Linked DNA regions of Homo sapiens: all the other regions are linked to region 1. The links are contacts of gene promoters, found by promoter capture Hi-C in blood cells and fetal thymus (Javierre and others, 2016). All regions are on one chromosome and are shown on one strand. The core of a region is centred on a gene start or on the middle of the fragment in contact, and the rest is flanking DNA. Distances in the headings are between cores, read along the strand shown. Region 1 holds the start of STX11 (syntaxin 11). Region 2 overlaps UTRN (utrophin). Region 3 overlaps UTRN (utrophin). Region 4 overlaps UTRN (utrophin). Region 5 overlaps UTRN (utrophin).

The links. The method cuts DNA at HindIII sites, captures the fragments that hold promoters and counts their contacts. A CHiCAGO score of 5 or more calls a contact.
Region 2: a contact is called between a fragment that was not itself captured here and the fragment with the promoter of STX11 in region 1, in 1 of 17 cell types (megakaryocytes). The highest score is 5.3, in megakaryocytes.
Region 3: a contact is called between a fragment that was not itself captured here and the fragment with the promoter of STX11 in region 1, in 3 of 17 cell types (total CD8 T cells, naive CD4 T cells and naive B cells). The highest score is 6.8, in total CD8 T cells.
Region 4: a contact is called between a fragment that was not itself captured here and the fragment with the promoter of STX11 in region 1, in 5 of 17 cell types (naive B cells, total CD8 T cells, total B cells and 2 more). The highest score is 6.4, in naive B cells.
Region 5: a fragment that was not itself captured here is called in contact with the fragment with the promoter of STX11 in region 1 in 4 of 17 cell types (total B cells, naive B cells, naive CD8 T cells and 1 more); the score reaches 7.2 in total B cells.

Annotation. Positions count from the first base shown.
Region 1 is chr6:144,147,972-144,153,815 of GRCh38, reverse strand. It overlaps STX11 (syntaxin 11), which reads right to left and starts at 3,299. Exons shown (of 2, transcript NM_003764.4): 1 at 3,113-3,299. RefSeq lists a silencer at 3,173-3,612. The HindIII fragment of the contact is 10,810 bases long and covers 1-5,844 here.
Region 2 is chr6:144,489,972-144,495,815 of GRCh38, reverse strand. It overlaps UTRN (utrophin), which reads right to left. Exons shown (of 75, transcript NM_007124.3): 31 at 5,617-5,745; 32 at 4,714-4,887; 33 at 2,360-2,515. Among named protein-coding and RNA genes, the nearest start is that of SNORA98, 87 kb to the right of the region's middle. The HindIII fragment of the contact is 1,202 bases long and covers 2,689-3,890 here.
Region 3 is chr6:144,472,935-144,478,778 of GRCh38, reverse strand. It overlaps UTRN (utrophin), which reads right to left. Exons shown (of 75, transcript NM_007124.3): 24 at 4,946-5,059; 25 at 4,020-4,175. Among named protein-coding and RNA genes, the nearest start is that of SNORA98, 70 kb to the right of the region's middle. RefSeq lists an enhancer at 4,575-5,774. The HindIII fragment of the contact is 2,534 bases long and covers 2,281-4,814 here.
Region 4 is chr6:144,440,930-144,446,773 of GRCh38, reverse strand. UTRN (utrophin) reads right to left here. Exons shown (of 75, transcript NM_007124.3): 14 at 2,392-2,493. Among named protein-coding and RNA genes, the nearest start is that of SNORA98, 38 kb to the right of the region's middle. The HindIII fragment of the contact is 1,068 bases long and covers 2,228-3,295 here.
Region 5 is chr6:144,417,816-144,423,659 of GRCh38, reverse strand. It overlaps UTRN (utrophin), which reads right to left. Exons shown (of 75, transcript NM_007124.3): 4 at 1,690-1,782; 5 at 34-111. Among named protein-coding and RNA genes, the nearest start is that of SNORA98, 15 kb to the right of the region's middle. RefSeq lists an enhancer at 1-37. The HindIII fragment of the contact is 2,541 bases long and covers 510-3,050 here.

The DNA.
Region 1 (5,844 bases), core at 2,050-4,549:
GCTCCTACCTCCTCATTACACACACCCGACAGGGTTCCACCTATTAAACCTCTACCAGCCCCTTCCCTCTTTTCCCATCTGCATTGTCACTGCCCGATTCAGGCCTTCTTCAATGTCCCATCTGCAATATGACAACAGTTTCCACGGTGTCTTCCTAGGGTCAATGTCACTCTCATCTAATCTAAGATTTTTAAAATTCCAAGTTTTGTTATTATTTTTTAAACACATACCTGACAATATCATTCACTTGTTCAAAGGCTTCAGTACTATTAAACCCTCATGGGGCCTTTGTGATCTGGCCCTTCCTGTCTCCGTAGGCCTCCCTCTGTGCCGTCACTAAACAGGCTGGAGTTTCCTGAACGTCCAGTGCTGTTTCACTTCTCTATGGGTGCTGTTCCTTCTGCTGGGTCACCTACAGCAGACAATTCCACTTGCCTGACAATTCATCCTCCTACGTGAAGGTTCATTATTCCATCAATAAACACTTTCTAACACTTATCATGAGACAAGCCTGGGCCAAGTTCAGGGAGTACAATGCTGAATGACAAACTCGACCCTTTCTTTCTCATAGAAAAAGTAACTTTAGGGCTCTCAAAGGAGGAATAAAGTTTGGAAATTAAGGTAAAGTTGTCTGAAATTTAGCATTGTTGCCTTTACCAGTTGGATATCTTAGCAAACTGGGGAAACTTGGAAACCTTGATACTTGGGCATCCAGTTCAAAAGCATCTCAGCAGATTTCAATTGCAACAGTAAACTGTGATACGGTAGATTTATTCATTTTGGCTCACACGGCTATAATGTGATAAAAAACATTGATTTGAACTACAAAAACAATGATCATAAACTCGCTTCAATATAGTGTTACCAATGTATAAACTATTAGGCAGGGCATGGTGGCTCACATCTGCAATCCCAGCACTTTGGGAGGCCAAGGCAAGCAGATCACCTGAGGTCAGCAGTTCGAGACCAGCCTGGCCAACAGGGCCGAACCTTGTCCCTACTAAAAATACAAAAATTAGCCGGGTGTTGTGGTGGGTGTCTGTAGTCCCAGCTACTTGGGACGCTGAAGCACAAGAATTGCTTAAACGCAGGAGGTGGAGGTTGCAGTGAGCCAAGATTGCACCACCACACTCCAGCCTGGGGCAACAGAGTGAGACTCTGTCTCAAAAAACAAAACAAAACAAAACAACCTATTAATTAGTCACACCATTTCCTAAAAGTCATGCTGTTAACTAAAGGTGACTGCAATTGTCCAGGGGTGATAATCAGCTGAATTTCGTTTTACATGGTTATTAAATAACATGAAACATGGTTCATTCAAGCACTTTAAAAACCATACCTTTCAAATTCATACATTTTTAAATCATGTATCAAATGAAGAATAGGCTGCCTACAAAGACAAGTAAATGACTAAACTCAAAAGTTTCCTTGCTCTTCCAGCCATGACCCAGTCCATTCCAAATCCCAGATCTTCAGAAACATCAGTCATATTGGGACAGAAACTTTTCTCTGGGTATAGATTTACCCTAGCACCTATCTCATTATATTGAATTTTCCAGCATATTTAAATAAACTATTAATTAGTCACACTATTTCTTAAAAGTCACACTATCAACTAATCGTGACCGCAATTATCTAGGGGTGATAATCTGCTGAGTCTACTCTTTAAATACACTGGGACCCAGCATATTGAGTTATATTGGCACAGAAACTTCACTCTGGGTATAGATTTACCCTAGTACCTTGCCGGCAGGATCCTATTATTCATGGTTGTACAAGCAAGGTTCAGGGAAGAGGCTGGCACAGAGAAGGTACCTGGTAACTGTTGTTTGAGGCTGAATTCAGCTCAACTCAGCTCCAGTAGAGATGGTGTCCCCTTCTCTACCGTGTTGAGATAGTGTGCAGTCCCTTCCTAAGGGCTGTTACCCACCGCAATAGGACTTGTCAGCTTCAACTTTTAAATTTCTCTGCTCCCGCTGGGACCCACCCGCTTCAAAAATCATCATGTGGTTTTAGCACCAATTTAGTAAACACAAACTGTCTGAAATATTTTGATTTTAGAGAGTTACTTACAATCACCACATTAAATGATACCTTTCTCCCATGCAGTGAAAATGACAGCAAAATGGTCATTGAATAATGAAATTAATTTTCTCTTGGGCATCTGTGGCAAAGCACATGATTTCAATGGTTATCTTAGATCAGCCCAGTGACCTTTACTGGCATGTTGTAACATCAGGCGCCTTAGGAAACTGAAAACTCAATCGTCACTTCCCATACCACTGCCCCAGGTTGGCAGGGCAGGCATTTCACATCTAGAGTCTCATTTTAAAGCAAGCCTCGCTTTTCAAAAGTTCATTAACAAAGTCTCACAATTAAGAGAGCAGCCCTGTGACTCATTTTTGGATACCTGTAAATAACAGCTCCTCCCTCTGCTGAGAAACGGCTGAAACAAGTGCGTGAGAACCACAGGAAGTAATACAGATCTCAGCTGGTGTCAGCGGAGTCTAGAAAAAGGCAGAATTCCCTCTCAGGACGGCGTGGCTCTCGCAGGCATTGCCACTACTTCTCTCCATGTTTCTAAAACAAAGTCTTACGTGGGCTTCGAAGGGACTCCTCGAAGGCTCTATCAATTTCTCCGTCTTTCCTGGCTACTGAGTGACACCGCCAAGTTCAAGTCAAGAAGTACCCATTCTGGTGTTTTTGACACAGTCACCCTACTAGGAAGTGAAGAGGTGATAATAAAAAAACACTCCAGCCTTTCGATTTAAAATAAAAGTAGTCTTGGGTGGACACTTTATAAAGGCAGCCTACCAACAGGTATCCCTAAAATAATTCTTACGAAGCACTAAATCCTAAGTCCCTCAGCCTCTGAAATTAAAAGTAATTTTAAAAAATCATTCTGCTTTATATGAGAAACCCAATGCTGTGTTTCCGAAGGTGCCCAGAGGCGGCGTGAGGACCTGCGCCAGATCCAAAATCCCACCTAAGGCACAGCCGCGGGTCCCGAGCCTAGACAGTGCCCCCGCCCCGACCCGCCCTCCCCGATCTCTCCGCGCACGGGGAAAATAGTCAGGAAGAGAAATGGGGGCTCAGGAAGAGAAAAACAAACCTGGACTGGGAGCGAGAGTGCGAACCGAGAAGCCCCTCTCCCGGCAGGGCGCGCGTCCCCTGTGGGCGCAGCGATGGAGAAGGAAACCTGTTGCGCGACTCCCGGCGGCTCCGCTCCCGGCGCCTCCTGCGGCCGAGGCTGAGTTCCTCCACGGCCGCCCGAGCTCCGCGCCGCCGCGGCCGCATCTGGGCGCCGCCGGCTCAGCCCCCGCCGCTTAGGAAGCGACCACAGCTGGGGACCAGGCCCCGCCCCGGGATGACAGCGCTGGGGCGCGGCGGCAGCCGGCTCACAGAGCGCGGGTTCCCGCCCCACCCAGAGTCCATGCGCTCGGGACCGCCCGGAGCCGGGGACGCGCTCCAGCCCCTCCCGCAAGCCCAGGGGCGTTCCCGCGGGCTGCGCGGACCGGCGCGGGGAGTGGGATGTTTGCCGCCCAAGACACTTCCTCCGCTCGTCCTCTGGTCCCCAGGGCAGGGAGCGCGCTGGACTTCCCCCGGGAATCCCCGCTGCGCTGGTGACATTTGCAGTCCGGTGCGTTGCCGCGGCGAGGACGCTGGAAGCCGTCTCTGAGCGTGGGTGTGGCTGCGGAAGCTGCGGCAGGTCCTGCATCCCTGGGACCCTCGAGGACGCGGGCGAGGAGCCTGCGGTCACACGGAGGCCGAGCACCGCCTTCCCAGAACCCTGCCGACCAACCTCTCTCCAGTCGGCCTCAACACCCGCCGGGCTCATCATTCTCTGGATATCAACTGAGCGTCCCCTTGTGTGCCCACCGCGCTCAAAAATACTGCCAAGACCCACCCTCCAGGTCCCGGCACTTTAACGGGGAGGGATAAATAGAAAGTGTGGATTGTGCCAGGTGGTGGTAAAGCACCTTGAAAAACAAGGCTGAGGCTGAAAAGTAAGGAAGTGATACTCAAAAAAGGAAAAATCGGGCCGGGCGCGGTGGCTCACGCGCGTATTCCTAACACTTTGGGAGGCCGAAGGGGGAGGATCTCTTGAGCCCAGGAGTTTGAGACCAGCCTGAGCGATGTGGTGAAAGCCTATCTCTACAAAAAATAAAAAAATTAACTGGGCGTGGTGGCGCACGCTGTGATCCCAGCTGCTCGGGAGGCTAAGGTGGGAGGATCACTTGAGGCTGAGAGGTCAAGGATGCAGTGAGCCGAGATCGCGCCACTGTACTCCAGCCTGGGCGACAGAATGAGACGCTGTCTCAATTGAATGAGAAGAAAAAAAATAAAACTAAAGAACGAATCCTGCCTTGATGGCAGAATGTTTAGACACAGGAACCACCTGAAAGCTCCCAGTTGCCAAAGATGGAACCATTTGAGCAACGAAGTAAACTAAACAAGGTAGTATTGGATTACAAGCCAAAGTAAAAAAATCCATGAGTCTACACTGATATAAATAAATAATTGAATAAATAAATAAAAGGCGGAGAGGAGACAAATCTCCTATACAGAATAATTCCAAATAATTTATGTAGATCATGTACCCTAGGCTGTGCACAGTGACTTCCTCCAAAATAGTACAATGTGGAAAGGGAAAAACAGTAGGTTTACAATGGAGAAAGCCGACAGACACTACCCCAGCCAGATGTTCTAAGCCAACGTCAACAATCGTGACTCATTGATGGCATGTAGTCAATATGATGTGATGAATGTGGCATATTACATGTGTGGTCTCCCTCCTGGAAAACCATAACCTCAGTCTCATAATGAGAAAAATATCAAACAAATTCCAGTAGTGGAACATCCTACAAAATACCTGACCAATATTCCTCAAAGTTGTCAGGTTATCAAAAGTAAGGAAAGTACAGTCCAGACGTGGCTCACGCCTGTAATCCGTACACTTTGAGAGGCTGAAGCGAGAGGATTGCTTGAGGCCAGGAGTTCGAGGCCTGATCTGGCCGACATAGCCAGATGCTGTCTCTACAAAAAATAAAATAAAATAAGGAAAGTCTGAAAAACTGCCGCAGCCTAGAAGAAACTCAGGAGACGTGAAAACTAAATGTAATGTGGTATCCTGGATGGGATCCTGGGACAGAAAAAGGACTTGGGGAAAAACTAAGGAAATCTAAATAAAGCATGGACTTTCATTAGTAATAAGAATCAAGGTTGATTAATTAGTTGTGAGGAATGTAATGTAAGATGGTAATCATAGGGAAATCTGAAATGGAATTTATGGAAATTCTGTACTACCTTTGCAGTTGTTCTGTAAATCTAAAACGGTTCTAAAAAATACAGTTTATTTTAAAAGAAAGTAAAATAAGAGGGATGAGGTATGTTATATTTTTAAAAATGGGTATATTGCAAAGCCATCTAAGATAAGAGAATCATTGAGGGAGGAAACAATGCAGCTATTGGGATTAAGATCATTTCAAGCCTAGGAATCAGTGGATGTAAAGGCCCCGAGGCAGGAGCATGCTGGGCTTCTGGGAGAAATATCAGCGTGGGCAAAACAGAGTCCAGGAAGAGTGATGGTGGTGGGGCTAGGAGTGGGGAGTAGAGCATGTAGGGCATTGGTAGTCATGATAGTCTTTACATTTTACATTGATTGAGACAGGAAGACTGAAGAATGTTTATCAGAGAAGCTAAATGATGTTGCTGGTTGTTTTTTTAATCTACCGTTTTGTTGAGGACAGATTAAAGGACAAAGATTAAAACAGGCCAACGAGTTAGAAAGCTGTGATGGTTAATTTGATGTGTCAAATTTATTGGACCATGGGGTGCCCAGAT
Region 2 (5,844 bases), core at 2,040-4,539, 340 kb before region 1:
AAATCTTACATGTTGCGACTAGAAAAAAGCCAACACCGGCTACTGCTATCCATTGAAATTTGGAATTATTAACATTTATTTTTTCCCTTGTATTTCTTTGAAGTACTAATGAGAGGTGACAGCATGCTGGCAGTCCTCACAGCCCTCGCTCGCTCTCGGCGCCTCCTCTGCCTGGGCTCCCACTTTGGCAGCACTTGAGGAGCTCTTCAGCCCACCGCTGCACTGTGGGAACCCCTTTCTGGGCTGGCCAAGGCCAGAGCCCACTCCCTCAGCTTGCAGGGAGGTGTGGAGGGAGAGGCGCGAGCGGGAACCGGGGCTGCGCGCCACGCTTGTGGGCCAGCTGGAGTTCCGGGTGGGCTTGGCGGGCCCCGCACTCGGAGCAGCAGGCTGGCCCTGCCGGCCCCAGGCAATGAGGGACTTAGCACCGGGCCAGCGGCTGTGGAGGGTGTACTGGGTCCCCCAGCAGTGCCAGCCCACCGGCGCTGCGCTCAATTTCTCACCGGGCCTTAGCTGCCTTCCTGCGGGGCAGGGCTCGGGACCTGCAGCCCGCCATTCCTGAGCCTCCCACCCCCTCCATGGGCTCCTGTGCGGCCGGAGCCTCCCTGATGAGTGCCACCCCCTGCTCCACGGCGCCCACTCCCATTGACCACCCAAGGGCTGAGGAGTGCAAGCCCACGGTGCGGGACTGGAAGGCAGCTCCACCTGCAGCCCGGGTGCGGGATCCACTGGGTGAAGCCAGCTGGACTCCTGGGTCTGGTGGGGACGTGGAGAGTCTTTATGTCTAGCTCAGGGATTGTAAATACACCAATCGGCACTCTGTATCTAGCTCAAGGTTTGTAAACACACCAATCAGCACCCTGTGTCTAGCTCAGGGTTTGTGAGTGCACCAATCCACACTCTGTATCTAGCTACTCTGGTGGGGCCTTAGAGAACCTTTATGTCTAGCTAAGGGATTGTAAATACACCAATTGGCACTCTGTATCTAGCTCAAGGTTTGTAAACACACCAATCAGCACCCTGTGTCTAGCTCAGGGTTTGTGAATGCACCAATCAACACTCTGTATCTAGCTACTCTGGTGGGGCCTTGGAGAACCTTTGTGTCCACACTCTGTATCTAGCTAATCTGGTGGGGACATGGAGAACCTTTGTGTCTAGCTCAGGGATTGTAAACGCACCAATCAGCGCCCTGTCAAAACAGACCACTCGTCTCTACCAATCAGCAGGATGTGGGTAGGGCCAGATAAGAGAATAAAAGCAGGCTGCGCGAGCCAGCAGTGGCAACCCGCTCGGGTCCCCTTCCACACTGTGGAAGCTTTGTTCTTTTGCTCTTTGCAATAAATCTTGCTACTGCTCACTCTTTGGGTCCACACTGCTTTTATGAGCTGTAACACTCACTGCAAAGGTCTGCAGCTTCACTCCTGAAGCCAGCGAGACCACAAGCCCACTGGGAGGAACGAACAACTCCAGATGCGCTGCCTTAAGAGCTGTAACACTCACTGCAAAGGTCTGCAGCGTCACTCCTGAGCCAGGAAGACCATGAACCCACCAGAAGGAAGAAACTCCAAGCACATCCGAACATCAGAAGGAACAAACTCCAGATGCGCCACCTTAAGAGCTGTAACACTCACCACGAGGGTCCACAGCTTCATTCTTGAAGTCAGTGAGACCAAGAACCCACCAATTCCAGACACACTAAGTCTACCACAATGAACATATATTACTTGTAGTATCCTTAGAATAATTTATGGAATATCAGTAGCCATTGAAAGTATAAATATTAGCCTGAATTAAATATTAAAAATAAATTTTTTTTAAAAACAGTGTCTCACTCTGTTCCTAGGCTGGAGTGTAGTGGTGTGATCTCAGCTCACTGCAACCTCTGCCTCTCAGGTTCAAGCAGCTCTCCCACCTCAGCCTCCCAGGTAGCTAGGACTACAGATACTCACCACCATGGCTAATTTTTTTTTGGAAATTTGTTTTGTTTTTGGAGGTTTTCATTTGTATTTTTTTGTAGAGACAAGGTTTCATCATGTTGCCCAGGCTGGTCTCAAACCCCTGGGCTCAAGCCATTACCTGACTCAGCCTCCCAAAGACCTGGGATTACAGGCGTGAGCCACTGTGCCTAGCCAAAAATAAATTTCTATGTAACTATGAATCACTGTAATATTACCACATACATTTAAAGAAATATAACAATTATTACAATAAATTGAAAACACGTATGAATCTCATAATTTTCAAACATGCATTTTCCAAAAAATGAAATTTAAAAATACATGAGAGAGAACGAGAGAGAGAGAGAGATTGAGAGAGAGAGAGAGAGAGACAGAGAGATGAGCTGTGGGGCTGCTCTCCTCACCTGTGCGCCCAGGTCATTGTAAAGAACCTTCAGGGAAGTCAGCTGCTCATCCATCCCTTTTGGGTTGTCCGTTTGCTGTTTCTGGACAATATGTCTTCCTGTTTTAATCACAGTTTCCACTTCAAGTTTGACTTCACTCAAAGTTTTATACAGTTTCTTTAAAACAAACAAAGAAAAAGACAAATTACACACTGTGGTGACAACTTGCCAACTGGCATCATGTCAGACCACAGCTTACACAGATTGACAGCCAAGACCTAACTATGGTGATCAAAGGCCATCATCTTTCTCAGATTTGGTCTGAAGGTCGAGTCAAATGAAATCAAGCTTGTAATAACTTCTTCAAATCTGACAAGAAAATAAACTAATAGAGTTTATGCTCATTCTTTCAAAATCTCAGACAAATGCTTATGAAAGTACTTGATAATATAAATATTTTTCCTACATAAAATGGGAAAACATTAGGACTAAAAACAGAATGTTTATCACAATTAAAATTACATTTTTAAAAAATCTTGCATGTTATGACTAAAACAAGCCAACACTGGCTACTGCTGTCTGTTGGATTTGGAATTATTAACATTTATTTCTATTTCTCAGAAGTACTAAGTCTACCACAATGAACATATATAATTTGTATGATAAAAAATACAAAACTCGATATATCAAGATGTATATAACTATAAGTAAACAGATTTCTGATGCAAATCAAAACCACAATAAGATACTATCTCACACCAGTCTGAATGACCATTATTAAAAAGTCAAAAAACAACAGATGCTGGCAAGGCTGCAGAGAAAAGGGAACACCATACACTGTTGGTAGGATTGTAAATCAGTTCAGCCCCTAGGGAAAGCAGTTTGGAAATATCTCAAAGAACTAAACATAGAATTATTATTCAACCCAGAAATCCTATTACTGGGTATATAAGTAAAGGAGGATAATCGTTCTACCAAAAGGACACATGCACTCCCGTGTTTATCACACCACTACACACAATAGCAAAGACATGTCATCAATCTAGGTGCCCATCAATGGGGGAATGGATAAAGAAAACGTGGTACAAATACACCACGGAACACTACACAGCCATAAAAAATGAAATCATGTCCTTTGCAGCAGCATGAATGCAGCTCAAGGCCATTATCCTAAGTAAATTAATTCAGGAACAGAAAACCAAATACTAAATGTTCTCACTTATAAGTGGGAGTTAAACAATGGGCACACATGCACATAAAGATGGAAAGCAAAGACAATGGGACTCCAAAAGGAGGGAAGGAGGAAAGGGGCAAGAGCTGAAAAACTACCAATTGGGTACTACATTTATTATTTGGGTGATGGGTTCAGTCGAAGCCCAAACCTCAGCATCATACAATATATCCATGTATCAAACGTGCACATGTACTTCCTGAACCTAAAAGTCTTCAAAAATTAAAAATAAAAATAAATTTAAATATAAAAAAAGAAATCGTAGTTCTGTAGGTCAAATTCAGAGCTGTCTTCTTCCTAGTTACCTGAAACCAAAAAGCTTTATTCTAAACAGCTTCTCTTGACACCTATACATCATCATCTCAACATCTCATAGGACGCTGTCATGTAACAGACCCCTGAACTATGTATGTTCCATGAAGTCAAGGACAGCACTTTCTCTGATTACCATTATGTCACAATAATCAAATAAATACTTACATACATGCACATATATATTAAAATTTATCCTTTGTTTTGAAAAGCACAAAGAACTGTCCCTATACCTCTCCTGTCCTAAAGAGTCTCATCTTAAGTTCTGTGATTCTCAAGCAGAACACTAATTCTAAGATTGTGTCCCCTTAGCCACATTATTTTTAAATTTCTATTCAATTGAATTATAAAGTTCAAGACTAAAAAAGTAATAAGGCCTTATATATCATTTCTTCTTTCCTATCTTAAGGTTTAAATTTCTATTGAAATTTTTATTTTCCTAGAAAATGGAATTTTTACGATATCCATTCTAAGTATGGTTCTTCTAGCTAATTCAAATTTATCCTTGAAAACTTTGCTTATTAGTCACACTCTGCTGAAGCCCTCCTAACTTCACATGGTGATTAAGCTGTATTTCTTTTGTTTTGGTTTTTGTCATCATGTTATATACATGTCTATTCTAGTTTCCTTAGCTATCTCTCTTATCTCTTCTAATTTCTTTGGAGGGAAAGACCACACTTCTTATTTTTTAACACGTTTTCCATCATCAATCCTTATGTTTAGCACACTGTAGACTAGTGATCACTGGACACACTAGGCATGTACTTGCTAGACCAAGCCATAACAGCTGCTGAAAAAGCCACTGGATGTGCCAATCACCCAAAAGCCTCACCATACACTTGTCCAGGTGCGTCTGTATGACGTCAGGGTCTACGTCCTTCACATCCAGAACGTGAAGTTCTGCTTTCACGCCATCCAGCACACGCTTGCAGTCCAGCATGCGCTGCTCGAAGTTAGCTGGCTTCTGGAAAAGCTGGAACTTTGTGGACACCTCTCGGAGTTTCCTCTGTTTGCAGAAATGAAAATATGCAATTCCCATCAGGATGATTATCTCTCTCATCATGAGCATAACAGATACTACTAAAAATTTGTACCATAAAGTACCAAAAGAAAAAAATTCAGAAATATGACCCAAAATAAAAAACTCCTAATGAATCTCAGTGAGGGTACCCGATCACCTAAGTGAACTGCATAGCCCAGTGTCAAAAATTACAACACTCAGTGTCTCAATCTCAGAAGTAATAGATTTGGATAAGAAATTTAGATAAAGCTGACCTCACTGGAATTAAAACTTCATGTTCAAAAAGATAGTTCAGGAACCTAGAACTCAAAATGCCCTTCATCACAAGTTCAGAGTGAAAGTCAATGTCATATCAACCATGAAAGAACTAAATGATGCTGCATCCAATTCATGCTCGGCCTGCCCACAGCATCAGCCACACGATACTGACAGAGGCTCTGCATTAAAGAAAAAGTGTATATAAAGCTAACTTCTAAATCTGGCTCACTCTCTTGTTTCTCATCTCAGCTATCAAAATCAGATTTCATATTTTTCCACACATGCAACAATTTGTTTCTGCTGCCCTAGGATGCAACCTTCAACACATCATCACTCCCATCCCATGGTTTACATCACAAAGAATACAAACGGTGCCCAAGTAATCAATTCTTTCTCTTTTTTGAAGAAAATTCCCAACAAGTTGAAAAGTAAAAGGAAGCTCCTGGCCTTCTTTACCTGTAGCACATCCATCTGACTTCCTCCTCTGGCAGTCCTACTCTCTGGGGAGGTCAGGGGCTGAGAACGCATATTTCTTCTCAACTCCTCTAGGGTTAGCTCATGGGCTGAGATCTCTGCTTGGATTTTCTAAAAAGAGATTGGAAAGGGGAGAGGATGTCCTTTTTTTTTTACTTAAGTATAAAAAGAGACAATACAAAAGTTCTATATCGTTGTGTAATACATGAT
Region 3 (5,844 bases), core at 2,298-4,797, 320 kb before region 1:
ACTTGGCAGGTTCAGCCTCATGCTCAAATTAAACGCCACAGTAGTGGCCACCCTGCCAGGGCCTGCTTGGCTGCTAGGTGGATAGTAACCAAAGGCCAGCACAGGAGCTGGATGGTTCTCACAGAAGTTAGAGTTAAGCAAGAGACAGAGGCTTTCCCAGTCCCTCCCTCCAAACAGGATCTCCGGCATAAAAATAGACAGGACCAAACAAGAGCTTTTCTTCCACTGTCCCCACAGGGTAACCAAGGAGCTGATGCCAGCAACACTCACAATCCCATTCCCAAGCCTGGCTGATCATCAGGTTAACCTGGTCAGCTTTTCATAAAAATACATGCACACACACAGAAAGAGAAAGAGAGAGACAGAGATTCTTGGGCCCCATTTCCAGAAAATTCTCTGTATGTGTACTTCTTGAACACTAGTCAGCAATATAATTTTCACAGATCCAAAAAGAAATGAAGAAAATAAAGACACTACCATAAGCTTAACAACAACAAAACACCCTCAAAATTATCTTTAATTATCCTGAGAATATATACTTTCTATTTTTTGGCATTAAAATGTTCCTTTTTTTCAGGATATCATGAATATAATAGATGAAATAGACTATCTTTGTTTGTTGATTTGTTTTATATGCCTGTTCTTTTTAGCAAAATGAAAATTTGGCAAAATTATGTTTGTCCAAAACTACTTCAACATTTGTACTAGTCAATGCAATGCAATAGTCTGGAAATGCTCTAGATAATTATTCACACATGTGGTTACCTCCTTCCTGAGGACACTTTAAATTTCCCATATATTTATTCCTGTATTTTGAATCAGTAATTCACAATGAATTATTTGTCACCATATGTATGTGGATGGATGGATAGATAGATAGATAGATAGATAGATAGATAGATAGATAGAGATACAAACTTCTAATTATCACCTTCCTTGATCCTCATTGCCACTTCCAAACCATTTTCTATTTCCTCAAAAACCCCAGTTCCTTAAGGCACATGCCATCAGATTATAGCACATTGAGAAAAATTTGAATTTAGCTAGGATAAGAGATGAGAGTATAACATTATTAGTTTCTTAAGTGTGATCATAGTATTGTGGTTTTGCAGAAGAATGCCTTCATGCTTGGAAAATCATGCTAGAGTATTTAGGGGTGAAGTGTCATGATGTTTTCAACTTACTGTTCAAAAGTACCAAAAAAAAAGGGTGTGTGCGTGTGTGTGTGTGTGTGTGTGTGTGTGTATAAAGAGAAAGGCAGAGAGAGAGAAAGCAAATGTGGTAAAACATTAGCAAGTCTCTGAATGGATGGATATACAGCTGTTCCTTTTTATCATTCTTTAACTTTTCTTTACATTTGAACATGTTCAAAATAAGTTGGGTAAAACAATAAACACAAAGCAAAATATTCAGTTATGCAAATATAAATTTTTCTGATACAAACATTAGCCAAAAGCATTTTATTAAGAAATACGTACTATTTACGTGACTGTGGGGTAAGCCTATATTTCATATTGACTTCTATTTTTCACTGCTTTGTCACTCACTTCAGCTATATATAGCCTCACTATTATTCCACTAATAAAAATCAAAGCAATTGGGAAAGAATACCTCCCAGTTCTACTGTTCCCATATCATTTCCTCCCTTCCATTACCACGGAGAAACCATATCTCTAGCAACATCTTCACTTAGACGGTGGATCTCATCCTCGCATAATCACAGACTTCACTTGATAAATTCTCCTATCTCAATCTCTTTCTGCACCATCATTTTTTTTCTAAAGTGAGGTCCTCTTATTAATATCTCTCATTTAATATCTCTCATTATTAAAAATAACAAAACCACCTCTTTGGATTCCCATCACCAGCACCCACCCATTTCTCTGCTCCCCTGAAGACAGAAATTTCTCAAAGTTGGTTATGCTTGGTGTCCCAGCTCCTCAGTTCCCATACCCTCCTCGAACTATCCACTATGACTTTTTTCCCACCAGTTCATTGACCCTGCTTTCTCAAGGTTATTAAATGCCTCCTTCTTATCAAATTTAAAGCTCGATTTTCTGTTTTGATTGGCCCCTGCAATCCTCAGCATTAGGCCCTGTGAAAAGTTTTCTCCACCTAGCATTTGGGACCCCACATTCCCCGTTACTGATTTTTCCTCCTTAGCTTCTAGCATCAAATTTAACCCTTCCAGAATGGTAGTCATCATTTCACCTACACCCACAGAAGCTTCTCCTTCGTTATTGCAGTAAATGACACCACAATTCACACAAAGTGGAAGCTTTGTAAAAATCCTGAGTCATCCTTGACCATTCACTTTTTCTTCTATCACACATCCAATTCTTTCCTTAGGTCTCTTCTTTATTTTCAAACCTAATATTTCTCATGCCCTCCATCACTACTTCGTTAAGCCTCCCTAGTGTATGGGTCCATCCTCTCTCTCCAAGCCTGCAGTAACCTTATAAGAATTCTTTCTGTTTTCATTCCTGCCTTCCCAGAGCAAACTATTCACATGAAAACCAGAGAGAGGCCGAGTGCAATGGCCCATGCCTGTGATCTCCACGCTTTGGGAGGCTGAGGCAGGAGGATTGCTTGAGGTCAGCAGCATCTGACCAGACTGGCATCTGGTCTCAAACTGCTGACCTCAAGCCATCCTTTTGCCTCAGCCTCTAAGAACCCCATCTCTACAATTTTTGTTTTTTTTTTAAGACAGGATCTGGCTCTTTCGCCCAGGCTGGAGTGCAGTGGTGCAGTCTCAGCTCACTGCAACCTCCATCCCCTGGGCTCAAGCCATCCTCCCACCTCAGCCTCCTAAGTAGCTGGGACTATAGGCGCACACCACCATGCCCGGCTAATTTTTGTATTTTTTATAGAGATAAGGTTTTGCCATGTTGCCCAGGCTGGTCTCAAACTCCTGAGCTCAGGCAATCCACCCACCTCAGCCTCCCAAAGTACTGGGATTACAAGCATGCACCACTGCATCTGGCTCAAAAATATTTCTAAAATTATCTAGGCATAGTGGTGAACATCTATAGTTCCAGCTACCCAGGAGGCAGGAGGACTGCTTGAGCCCAGGAGTTCAAGGCTGCAGTAAGCTAGGATTGTGCCACTGCACTCCAGCCTGGGTGATACAACAAGATACTGTTGCTAAAAAAAAGGAAACAAAACAAAAAGCCAGAGTGACCTTAAAAGATCTATATCACATGTCACTTCCCTGTTCAAAACCTTCCAATTGCTTTCTGTGTAATATCATACTTGAAATAAATCCCAAGTCCTTTCCTCCAAGGCCATAGCTAATCCATCCTCTGCCTACCTCTAACCTCAAATATTCCCATTCTCCAACTCACTAACTCCTCTCTGTTTTATTCCAGCTACACTGCCTTCATTCTTTATTAAACAGACCAAGTTCATTCCCACCACAGAGTTTTAAAGCCTGCTATTCTCCACGCCTGAATGTTCTTATCTGAACCTTACAAGGCTCATCTCTTACTTTACTCAGTTCTTTATTCAAACATCCCCATCTCAGAAAGTCCTTCCCTGACCATCCTATTTGAAATAACCCACCTAGCCCTAACTCCTTGCTACTCCTCCATGATATTATTCATTATCCATCTGCCTCACTAGAATGTAAGCTCCTTAAGAGGAGTTTCTTCTTCCTTGTTCAATGCTGTACCTGCAGTGCCTAGAATGATGCTTGACAGGTGGCAACTGATTAAGAAATATTTGCTAAGTAAATAAATGGTCCCACTCAAATGTCTTAGGGGTAAAGCAAGTGTCATAAATGTGTTTCAAGCCAGATTTAAGACAAGAATGGATAAGCCCTGAGCCAAACTGGACAATCAGCACCCTCTCTTAATTTAAAAAATGATGCCTTTTTTTTTGGCCCCAGCTCACTACCCATGCTGGAGTTATTCTAGACCATCGTTTTTCAAACTGGATGGGTCATAATACATTTAGTCAGCTGAGAGAAGCTACAGTCTACATCTCCTGAAAACCGTAGGTAGTAAAGTTGAAAAACTCACCTCCTTGCTAAGTTTCTCCAGTTGAGTTTGGTAGTCACCTAGTCTTGTCTGCACCCAAGTTTTTATTCCAGCAACTGGACCACTTCGAAGATTAGTCTCTATTTCCTTCATGTTTTTCAGAGATGATTCAATTGTTTCTATTTCATTAACAAATGCCTAAACACATAAAAGATGCATGTTGAGTTCATTACTATATAAGTGGATGCCATAATTATAGTTTGTCTGCTTATCTCCCTGCAAATATTACACAAGCAGACTGCTTAAGAGTCAGTACTTCTAACTACTTAAGAAATATTGTGCCTTAAGAAACTCATTTCACCTGGGTGCTTGATATAGCCATCTGCCAAATTAGACTGGAAATACTTGACTCTCAGAAGGGAATAGCCTTTTAATTAATGTAGAGAAGCCTGATGATTTCACCAAATATAAACTGCATGCACTATTACTAGCAAATTCATTTCTTGTTTTTTGTTTTTTTAACACTTTAAGTTCTAGGGTACACGTGCACAACATGGAGTCATTGTATATTGCTTTTCTTGTGCCACATGGTGAGGATTTAAGAAAAACATACTTAAATGAATTTGATGAACAGACACTTCTCAAATTCATTTGTTAAATATGTTTTTCTTAAATCCTCACCATGTGGCACAAGAAATGCAATATACAATGACTCCTAATGAACCAAAATTGTTCTTGTTCTCTATTCTATAACCTCTCAAAATTCTATAACCACGTCCAGAAATAAAAACTTGAAGAATCTGTCATTCTTTTATTAGCTATAAAGTCATAAAAGCTTTATGATGAAAGATATTTTATCTAGATGTAATGCTATGCTATATTCTCACAATTTTAATAATAGCAGCAAATAACATAGAAAAAGAACAAAATGTTATTTATGACAAGTTCCCCAGATCAGCAGAACTCACAGAGCACTGGTCTAACTGCCTCTGTAGACCTGCGTCGTCTCCTTGGGCAGCCTGCTGTTTCATTAAGAAGTCTTTCACGCCATCCATCCACTTCTCAATGACTGTTGAATCGGCCTAATCGAACATGATAACAGAGGGGGATATTACTTCGTGACGTTCAGCCTACTACATCTCAAGATCTACCGCCACTGGAACAAAGGAACTTTTTAAAGCTCCGATAGCATCGCTTTCATTTATGTTATTTCTTTTTCTAAACCTTCCAAATTTGAAAATGATTATTTTCTTCATTCTTGACTAAAATCCTCAAGAGATGACAGGTTAGTAACCACTCTAAAAATTTCCAAACGCTAGCTCTTTTTGCTTAAATGCAAGCAATAGTTATGATTTAAAATGCAAATTACAGGGAAAAAATGCATTTCTAGGTTTTATCAGCTATAAAATATTTTGCTCTGATATAATTTAGAACAATTTTTCTCTAAAGTTAGTAACTCAGAGCAGGAATAAACAAATAGCACGGTAGAGGGAATACAATAGATGGTTCTCATTTCTGCTTTTGGATGCCTTTTTATCTGAGAACTCAAGACAGTCCCCGTTCAGCTCCAATATTTCATCCAACATTTATTAAGCACCTACTATATATATAAAATCCAGCTACTGTGTATGGCGATAGGGGTTCAAAGACAAATGTGAAAGCAAACATTTTGCAAAGAGAAAGAGACTTTAGAGAGAAGGTAACATTGGAACCAGGCCTTAAAGAATGCAAATAAGGGCCAGGTACGGTGGCTCACGCTTGTAATCCCAGCACTTTAGGAGGCCCAGGCTACGGATCACGAGGTCAAGAGATCAAGACCATCCTGGCCAACAAGGTGAAACCCCGTCTCTATTAAAAATACAAAAAT
Region 4 (5,844 bases), core at 1,512-4,011, 290 kb before region 1:
CTGGGTCCAGGGTCCACACCCCAAAACCAGTGTTTTCCATGGCATCATGTAGGAAATCCACACTAGCATTCAAGGTTCAACAGCAATTATGATTAAAGGAGGGAGTCTGAAGAGCACCCAAAGCCCATATAAAGATTTTTCAACTTCATTGGACAACAATGTGTGTTTTCTAAGCAGAGGATATTCAGTCATGTAGAGAGATAATCCTGAAGAAGGGATGGAAAACAACCGTAGCTACATTGTGATAATTTCTCCCAAAATGTAGCATTTAGGGTGGAAACCCTTTTCTATTTAGTAGGGAGGAAAACAACTTGGTTCTGTATTTGCAACGGAATCAATTCTTTCTCAGCAATTTTATTTATGAATTAAATATTTAACAACTATTCCTTGCCTCTATATTTCACCCCCCAATGGATACTGTCCTCAGTCTAGTGAGGCTGGTAAGATATGCACATAAATAATGATGCCATCAGACAGAACATGTAGACAGTACACACACACACACAAAAGGTATAGTTAAAATGTCAGATCATTATAGAACACGATGAAAGGTCAGTTTAAAACCTAAAGTGGTACAAGTGACTGAAATACTAGCACTCTATTTTTAAACTGTTTTTTATCATCAAATTAAAATTATTTCCAAATTTGCAATTACTTTACTGGATAGAAGAGTAACACAATGGTTTTCTCTAGCAATCGATGTCTTCTACTGCAATTATTACTATTACTATTATTTTTATTTTTTGAGACAGAGTCTCACTCTGTCACCCAGACTGGAGTGCAGTGGTGCCATCTCGGATCACTGCAACCTCTGCTTCCTGGGTTCAAGCAATTCTCCTGCCTCCATAGCCTCCTGAGTGGCTGGGATTACAGGTGCCCACTGCAGGCCTGGCTAATTTTTTGCATTTTTAGTAGAGACAGGTTTCAACATGTTGGTCTGACCTCAAGTGATCTGCCCGCCTCGGCCTCCCAAAGTGCTGGGATTACAAGCGTGATCCACCGCGCCCAGCCTTTCTACTGTCATTATTGAAGTAAAATTTTAACTATTCTGAGACTTTTTGGCCTAAATACAAGGTTCACAATAAACATAAATATTTATAAAGTGAAATGTAAATATTTGTAACATGAAATGTAAACATTTCATAAATCAGAATCAGGTCCCTTTTGTGATTCCTAATAAGAAAAATCTGACCACAGATTGAGGGCGGGGGGGGAAGTAGTCATTAACAATTTATATTTGGACAAATTCTGCAACTATCTGCCACCATATTTAGTAAGCCACAAAACATCACACACTTGAGTTTTTTCCCCTGAAGAGAATATAGTTGCTTCTTATAGATGGAAATGAAATGCATTTAAAAGAATCAAAATGGACACTGAGAGATGTGGGAATAGAGTATTTGCTTTTTTTTTTTTTTTTTTGAGAGGGAGTCTCGCTCTTGTCTCCCAGGCTGGAGTGCAGTGGCACAGTCTCGGCTCACTGCAACCTCTGCCTCCTGGGTTCCAGCAATTCTCCTGCCTCAGCCTCCTGAGTAGCTGGGATTACAGGCACCCACCGCCACACCTGGCTTATTTTTATATTTTTAGTGGAGACGGGGTTTCACTATGTTGGCCGGGCTAGTCTTGAACTCCTGACTTCAAGTGATCCACCTGCCTCAGCCTCCCAAAGTGCTGGGATTACAGGCGTGAGCCACCCTGCCCGGCCAGTATCTACTTATTTTTTAAACCACAACTGTTTGGCATTTGGGGAGAAAAGTTTTGTTTATTTGTATTTTGTTTCAATGGTTGCTTTTCTGGAAAGACAGAGAACAGGCAAAGAGCCACCAGTCCTATTGAAAAATTAAGGTGGCAGCTTTGTACAACAGATTCATTTGCTGTGATAACACTTAGTGGAAAAAATATGCAATTAATCCAGTGTTAAATCAAAGGTGTGACTAAATAATATTTTCTCATTAATTTCAATACTTGTTAAAAATCAAGAAAAAATCTAGGGAATTAAAGTTCACAGTGTGTTGAGTGGATTCATTACTCATTATTTACTGAGCACAAATTATATGCTAGGCATTGTGTTGATACAAATTCAAATACATCACCCAACACAAATCCACTAATAACTATGATGTCAAACAAATCATGAAAATAGCATATCTTCTAAGTACTAACATTCCAAGTAATGAAAACAGGTCAAATTAATGGAGCCAAATGACACAATCTCTGTGAATAAGCTTCATGATCAGTTATAAACTGGATAGAAATTTGATCTTTAAAATAATTATTTATATATTTTCCTTTCAAAGAAAAGTAAACAAGGCAACTTTATTCTAAAGTCACAATAAAAGATGGGTTACTTTTCACCATTTATTTTGCCCCTTATGGAAAACAGTTTCATACCTGTTCTTCCAATAATTCCTGCCACAATATATTGATTTCTTGTAACCTATTCCAGCGTTCTTCAGTCCAACGGCATACTGCTGTCCAGCGCTCACCAAGTTTCTAGAAAAAGGAGAAACCATCCTTTGTCAACACAGCCTTAAGAGAGAGTTATCACAATCCTTGAAGAAATTCATGATTTCCATTGTTCTTTATTATAGAATAACAACTTATAAAAAGTATTTTTATAAAAATTGCTTTAAAATAACAGACTAGGCCTAGAAATGTATGAATCAGAAAAACTAATTTCCATAGAATTGAACAAATGATTTCACATAGCTAGAAACTAACATAATAGAACTGTATCCTCTGAATCTTTGACTCCAAACCTGCTCTTTCTATTTCATTGTGGTTTTTATGAGAATATGACATTTTTACATATTATTAAAAAATAAAACAAACATATCTACTTTTTGTGCTTCAAATTTTTCAAATTTTTAGCTAAAAAAACCAGCATGTCTGTTATATTCCTTAACTCTCTTTTACATGCCAAGAAAATTTTCATCTGTGGTACCAAAATTATGAAAAATGTTTAACTTATAAAACCTGTTTTGAATAAGAGAATTTTTATGAGACAATAAAAAAATCAAATGATTTGTTCTGTTTACATTATGTGATCCATAAAAAAATTCCCCATAAGTTACATAAATTAGCAATAGAATCTTACTAGTATCAGCAATACTAAATAAATTTTATTAATTATAAAAAATCACTCTTCATGATTATTTTCTCCCAAAATCATTTTATTACAATTTTACAAATAATGATTAACAAATGTTAAAATTTATTTTTGTACTATATACATGTGAACAAGAATTATTTAATTCATATTATACTATTTTGATACTTAATATGAGAATAAGCTTTTCATAGTACAAAGGGGGAGAAAACTTAAGAGCCAGAAGATAGATTTCCAGTCTCAGCATGATAACTCATTGTCTATTTAAATCTCAGGAGGACTACTTAACCTCTCTGAATCTCAGATTCCTTACTGCTAAATAGTCAAGGCATGAATACTTAGCTCTCAGGTTATAATAACTAACTACTGCATACAAGTCTTAGAACCTCTGGCTGACTTTAAATATCACAAAAGCAAAAGGACCTCACGTGATGAAATTACAGTTTGGATTGCCTCACTTAATGAGGCATCATATTTAAATAAATTGGCAACGTCTTACCAGAAAATCCAAGTATTGTTCAAATGAAATACCAATAAATTTATCTGTTAAAGACTTGTAAAGATACACTATTGCCTTTGTGCAAAAAGAAGCAATTTTGGGAGGTTTCCAAAACTGTTGTTGAAATTCACATATTAATCTACCGAAAACACTGAGATATTGAATCCTACTAGGTGAAATTCTCAAACTTTACTATGCACATGATTTTTCTTACATTGCAAATTCACTGCATCCCTCCCTCACCTAGATTTAGGTAGTGGGTAGAGCCTAGGAATCTACATTTTAACAAGCTCCTCAAGTGCTTCTGAGAAGAAGTCAGTGGATCACTTAATAAGATCAGCTCCTGTGTGATATGGTTTGCCTGTGTCTCCATCCAAATCTCATCTTGCATTATAACTACCACAGTTCTCACATTTTTTGAGAGGAACTTGGTGGGAGGTAATTGAAGCATGGGGGCAGATCTTTCCCATGCTGTTCTCATTATAGTGAATAAGTCTCACGAGATCTGATGGTTTTACAAAAGGGAGTTTCCCTGCACAAGCTCTCTCTCTTTGCCTGCCACCATGCATGTAAATCGTGACTTGCTCCTCCTTCCCTTCTGCCATGATTGTGAGGCCTCCCCAACGATGTGGAACTGTAAGTCCATTAAACCTCTTTTTCTTCCCAGTCTCAGGTATGTTTTTATCAGCAGCATGAAAATGGACTAATATAGTAAATCGGTACCAGTAGAGTGGGGTGCTGTTGAAAAGATACCCTAAAATGTAGAAGTGACTTTGGAACTCGGTAACAGGCAGAGGTTGGAAACATTTGGAGAGCTCAGAAGAAGACAGAAAAATGTGGGAAAATTTAGGGTACCTGTGGAAGAAATTTCTAAGCAGCAAAGCATTCAGGAGATGACTTGGGTGCTGTTAAAGGCATTCAGTTTTATAAAGGAAACAGATCATAAAAGTTTGAGAAATTTGCAGCCTGACAATGCAATAGAAAAGAAAATCTCATTTTCTGAGGAGAAATTCAAGCTGGCTGCAGAAATTTGCATAAGTAACAAAGAGGCAAAAGTTAATCACCAAGACAATGCGGAAAACATCTCCAGGCATGTCAGAGGTCTTCACATCAGCCCCTCCCATCACAAGCCCAGAGGCCTAGGAGGAAAAAATGGTTTTGTGGGCTGGGCTCAGGGTCCCCGTGCCTTGTGGCTAGGTACTTGGTGCCCTGCATCCCAGCTGCTCCAGCCATGACTAAAAGGGGCAAAGGTACAGCTCAGGCCATGGCAAAGGTGCAAGCCACAAGCCTTGGCAGCTTCCATGTGGTGTTGAGCCTGCGGGTACACAGAAGTCAAGAATTGAGGTTTGGGAACATCCACCTAGATTTCAGAGGATGTATGGAAACACGTGGATGTCCAGGCAGAAGTTTGCTGCAGAGGTGGGGCTCTCATGGAGAACCTCTGCTAGGGCAGTGCAGAAGGGAAATGTGGCCCAAACAGAGTCCCTACTGTGGCACCACCTAGTGGAGCTGTGAGAAGACGGCCACTGTCCTCCAGACCCCAGGGTGGTAGATCCACTGACAGCTTGCACTATGCACCTGGAAAAGCCGCAGACACTCAACACTGACCCATGAAAGCAGCCAGGAGGGGGCTATTTCCCGCAAAGCCACAGAGGCAGCACTGCCCAAGACCATGGGAACCTACCTCTTGCATAGGCGTGACCTGGATGTGAAACATGAAGTCAAAGGAGATCATTTTGAAGCTTTAAGATTTGACTACCCCACCGTATTCCATACTTGAATGGGGACTGTAGCCCTTTTGTTTTGGCCAGTTTCTCCCATTTGGAACAGATGTATTTACTCTTTGCCTGTGCCCCCATTGTAGCTAGGAAGTAACTAACTTGCTTTTGACTTTGCAGGCTCATAGGCGGAAGGGACTTGCCTTGTCTCAGATGAGACTTTGGACTGTGGACTTTTGAGTTAATGCTGAAATGAGTTAAGACTTTGGGGGTACTGTTGGGAAAGCATGATTGGTTGTGAAATGTGAGGACATAAGATTTGGGAGAGGCCAGGGGTGGAATGATATGGTTTGCTTGTGTCCCCATCCAAGTCTCATCTTGAATTGTAACTCCCACAATTCCCACATTTTAAGTGAGGAACCCAGTGGGAGGTAATTGATTCATGGGCGCAGGTCTCTCTCTTGCTGTTCTTGTGATAGTGAGTAAGTCTCACGAGGTCTGATGGTTTTAAAAAAAGG
Region 5 (5,844 bases), core at 531-3,030, 270 kb before region 1:
CACAGACCCCCAGAACTCACATTACACACTTACATTGTTCTGATGTAAAACCTGCAGCACTCTGTTGACGTTATTTAAGGCATGTACCCTTGTGGAACCACGTTCCTTTGGCTGGAAAATAAAACAAAAAAGCAAGTAAAACTGATTGTCCCTCCATATGCCTGACTAACACTAGCACTGAGATACACACAGAAGTGAAGCTCAGCGTACAGGGCCCCTCAGAGGCAGGAGATCTGGCTGAGGTCTCAGGTTACCACCCTGGAAGCTGGTGTTCACAGTATGAAAATCCCTCAACTAACAACATCTTAAGATACCAGTTCCCTAACTTGCATGCACGTTGAAATCTCCTAGGCAGCTTCATAAAAACACCAATACCTCTGTCCAACCCCACCCCCAAAGAGTGTGGCTTAATGGGTCTAGGGTGTGGTCTGGACTTGGGATTTTTAAAAGATTGCCTGTAGTTCTAATGTGCAGACAAGTTTGGAAACCAGTGCTCTATGAACAAAGCTTCCTTTCTCTTAATTGGTCTGGCTGCAGAAGGATTTTAGAGAAATTGTGTCCTCTTTATTCTGCACAGATGTGAACAGAGCAAGGAGGATTCAGAGGCACCATCCCAGGCTCCAGGTAGCATTGCAAGAGCCCTCGGAAGGCAGGGAATTCCCATCTGGGGAAAGATAACCTATGCAGCTTCTTTCTACTTCACTGGCCAGAACCTTATCTGAGAGAGGAATCAGCCTGTCTAACAGTTGTCTACCCACTACCTGGAGGGCAAAGAGAGAGAATGACATCCCACACTTCTGCAAGAAAGAAATTCATCTTCAGGAGTGCATCTCTCTGTACTGTGATAGTAATTCTACCTCTAGAGTTAACATTTGTACCCATACATGCATCCTCTTTATTGGCAGTTTTATCTGCATGAGTTTGGAGTACCCCACACATAAAATAATAGAGTTGTATTTAAAAAATAAATCAACAAAATATAATCCTGAAAATCTGAATAAAAAATAGATGTCATAGTTTTTAACAACTTTTTTTTTTTTTTGAGACGGAGTCTCACTCTGTTGCCCAGGCTGGAGTGCAGTGGCGCAATCTCGGCTCACTGCAACCTCCACCTCCTGTGTTCAAGCAATTCTCCTGGCCTCAGCCTCCTGAGTACCTGGGATTACAGGCACATGCCGCCACACCCAGCTAATTTTTTGTATTTTAGTAGAGATGGGGTTTCACCATGTTGCTCAGGCTGGTCTCGAACTGCTGAGCTCAGGCAATCCGCCCACCTTGGCTTCCCAAAGTGCTAGGATTACAGGCGTGAGCTACCGCGCCCAGCCTTAACAACTGTTTTAAAAAATATTTAACTCTTAAATGTGTTTGTCTCCAGACTCTACTGTTCAAAACATTGTGTCCTCTCTATAAATCCATTCTTTTTTGTAATTCTCTCATCCTGGGCTGTCTCAGAGCAATAAACATTTAAGGTAATTTTATCTTCAATAAAAACAGAGCCCTCAGAAGAGCCAAAATGTTGTTGTATCAAAGCACTCATTAAAATGCTTTGTTAAAAATGTTCCGAATTTCAGCCTTTACATTTGAACGTAAAGTAAAATGGATACTTTCACTTTAATGGGTACCCACACTGGGTCATCAAGTATCAGCAATGACCGGAGACTCCGTTGTTTACAAAGATGACTTGCTCACCAGTGATGTTCCTGTGAGGCCTTCTAGAAGATCCAATAGCTTCCTTCCATCTTTGAGGTCTGTGAACATATCATTGATGGGTGGTTTCCCACTCTGTAAAAGAAAAACACAAATAAAATATGGGGTATGCCAACAGCAGAAACTCCATATATACCTGGGCAAATAAATGAGTGGCTTCATTTTTTGCTCAATTAAAATGTTGTGGATGATCTGCAGACTATCCAAATTTGTCTTTTGGGGGTTTTTATTTATTTATTTATTTTAATTAATTAATTTTTTTTTTAGACAGAGTCTCACTCTGTCGCCCAGGCTGGAGTGCAGTGGAGTGATCTCAGCTCACTGCAACCTCCGCCTCCAGGGTTCACGCCATTCTCCTGCCTCAGCCTCCCGAGTAGCTGGGACTACAGGCGCCCGCCACCACGCCCAGCTAATTTTTTATATTTTTAGTAGAGATGGGGTTTCACCATGTTAGCCAGGATGGTCTCGATCTCCTGACCTCATGATCCGCCCACCTCGGCCTCCCAAAGTGCTGGGATTACAGGCGTGAGCCACTGCACCCGGCCCAAATTTGTCTTTTATAGAAAGAACAAGTACAAATACAGAAATTTTTAAATCCCATAAAGAATATTTTAAGCTGAAATAAATTGCATTTTTCCTTACAAAGAAAGCAAATCAAGCTGTTGGGCATCGTGGTTCATGCCTGTAATTCCAGCACTTGGGAGGCCGAGGCAAGCTCAGAAGTTTGAGACCAGCCTGGCCAATATGGTGAAACCTCATCTCTAGTAAAAATACAAAAATTAGCCGGGCATGGCGGTAGGCACCTGCAATCCCAACTACTCGGGAGGCTGAGGCAGGAGAGTTGCTTGAACCCAGGAGGTGAAGGTTGCAGTGAGCCAAGATCGTGCCACTGCACTCCAGCCTGGGCAACATGGCAAGACTCCATCTCAAAAAACAAAAACACTACAAAGTCTGGACATAATTTCACACAAATATACAGTAAAGTGGAAGAAAGAACAATAAACGACAAAATAATAGGCCTTGAGTATGGCATATGTTCCTGAGAAAGCAATGATAACGAGACGCATTAAAAATGTAAATGAGCCTACAACATCCGGGTGCAGAGGCCAACTAAAAGTATAAGGACTGTCACTTCATCACTGCGTCTCACATCACAGTGTGACAATGTCTTCCAGCCTTTCCATTATGGGAGTACGTGATTTGGTCATCAATTTCAGGGCTGAGGTGTTCAGTCTGTATTTCTGGTTATTAATTTCTTAACACTTAAGGCACTTTGGGCTTAACAATTAAATACTTTTTGTGCTTAAAACTAGTACCAGTCCAAGATTTTAACTGACAAAGCTTATAGAATTTCTAAACTCTTTTTCCTGATAAATAGCATCAACTCCCACAGATAATCCTGCTCTAGTGTCTGATGCCAGAAAATCCCACTCCATTCACTGTAAGTTTGGTAGATCCTTGCCTGTCTGTGATACAATGAATTATTATGCAATGGGGTGATCACCGCATAGAAAATCAGGAAGCCTCGGCTTTAAGTCCAGTTTGACCTTTAACTACCTGGTGAACCTGGCTCAGCTACCTAACCTTTTAAATCAAAAGTCACTGTAAAGATCAAATAATAGAATATTATAAGAAAATGCCCTGAGAACTACAGAATACAATGTAATATTTAATAAATGTTGTATTATCTTGTATCGAATTACTGCCTTATATAATAAAATCTCCACAGAGATGAACAGTCCCACTTCCTGTCAATAATAGATATTTTTTAACCAATACTTCTTTTATCTTCTTCATTTCTCACTTTAAAAAATATATACATATCATTCATATGAAGCAAAACTTTACTCTGAGTTTGAAATGGAGGAGGGGGAAGAAGGAGCCATTCTGAAGTTTCCTAAAATTTGGCATTATTCCTTCCTTCCTTCCCTCGTGATTCCTTATCTGTTTTTATTGTGTGTGTGTGTGTGTGTGTGTGTCTGTGTCTGTGTGCGCACAAGTGTGTGTACCTGAAGAGACCTGAATTACAAAGATGAATAAAGATTCCATATTTCTGCACACTCAACAGCTTACCATTCAGTGGAAGTGATACTCTTTTTTAGAAAATAACAATTACAGTGCGATGTGTAAGGTCTGGAATAGAAAAGTGTGCCAGTGCTATAGAAGCACAGAGGAGAGAGAGACCCCAAGACCACTGCAAGCCAGGGAGTGGGCAAAGGCTTCAGACAGGAGCTGACCCTTGAACTAGACTTTATTTAGTTTTTTACAAGGCATAATTTAATTATCTTTTAAAACATTCAGATTCAGGGAGTTCATATGCAGGTTTGTTACATGGGTATGTTGTGTGACACTGAGGTTTGGGTCTCGAATGACCCCATTGCCCAAGTAGTGAACACAGTACCCAGTAGGTAGTTTTTCAACCCTTGTTCCCCTCCCTCTATCTGTTTTTAAACAGGTATTAGGTATAGCCAACTCATAATTTTTAGCATGTGCCTTTTTCATCATTCATATACTTCAGATGAGGGAAAGTGCAGTAAATTTTCACCACAGAATCAGTAAAGAATACACTGTTACTTATTCATATCTGAAACAAAGCTGCTTTTCTGTTCCCAGCTGCCTTTTTCACAGGCAGCGATAGATTCAGGGACAAAGAGATTTTCTCCATCAATCAAAATAACACAGAGATGTGCAAGATGCAGGGGCCACTTTCCAGAGGCAGAACTTCAGGAAGCCGGGTAAGGGGTAATTTCCCCTTGAGGGGAAAGTCCCCTGAGGACTTGCTACCCACTGTCAGTAAAAGCAATGGGCAGAAGTGGCCTTCGTCACCTGCCTACGTCTAATCCCCCTCCCCCACCCAACCAGAAGTACAATTCTGCAAAATAGCCAACAAATAACCGAATTCACTTTCAGGTCTTAGGCATAGCAAAAATATATTATATAGGTAAAGCGCATGGGAGAAACAAATGGGGTTATATAGGCATAGAAAGGATCTTAGAAAATACTGATGATGGCAAGGGCAGCTAATATAACACCTGGGCAGCCTGAAACCCTTCTCAAATCCACTCTCCACTTTCCAAAAAATAGTATAATATAAAACAACTGGCTGGGCACGGTGGCTCATGTCTGTAATCTCAGCACTTTGGGAGGCCGAGGCGAGAGGATCACTTGAGCAGGAATTCGAGACCAGCCTGGCCAATGTGGCAAAACCCCATCTCTACTAAAAATACAAAAATTGGCTGGGTGTGGTGGTGCACACCTGTAATCCCAGCTACTTGGGAGACTGAGGCAGGAAAATTGCTTGAACCCAGAGGAGATGGAGACTGCATGCCACTGCACTACAACCTAGGCAACACAGCAAGACTCTGTCTCAAAAAAACAAACAAACAAACAAACAACAACAACAAAAACAGCATTATATAAAAGAAATACAGGCCTGGCACGATGGCTCACGCCTGTAATCCCAGCACTTTAGGAGGCCGAGGCGGGCGGACCACGAGGTCAGGAGATCGAGACCATCCTGGCTAACACAGTGAAATCCCGTCTCTACTAAAAATACAAAAAAAAAAAAAAAATTAGCCGGGCGTGGTGGCGGGCGCCTGTAGTCCCAGCTACTCGGGAGGCTGAGGCAGGAGAATGGCATGAACCTGGGAGGCAGAGCTTGCAGTGAGCCAAGATCACGCCACTGCACTCCAGCCTGGGTGACAGAGCGAGACTCCATCTCAAAAAAAAAAAAAGAAATATAAATATTTATTCATATTATAAATAATTATGGATGTCCATTAATGACCTCATCTGTAAACAAGAAGCCTCTTATTGGCCATAGAATTTTGGGCAAGTTACTTGGCCTTTCTGCATCTATTTGTTTACCTGTTAAACTAAGATGACAGATGTTCATTAAATGGTTGATGTGACTATATCACAAGCATAACTTTAGTGTTTTCTATTGGCAGAAAAGTGTAATAAAATATCAACAATATCTGAAAGGACTGAGACAACAACTAAGCACTTCTTCATCTCAAGCAGGAAGGCAAAAGCAGGCCCTGAACATGAGAACATGGTAGTGTCAATTCACAGAGAAAGATCTCACAAGTCTCAGGTTTCATTAATATGTCATATGATGACCTGCAGGAACATATC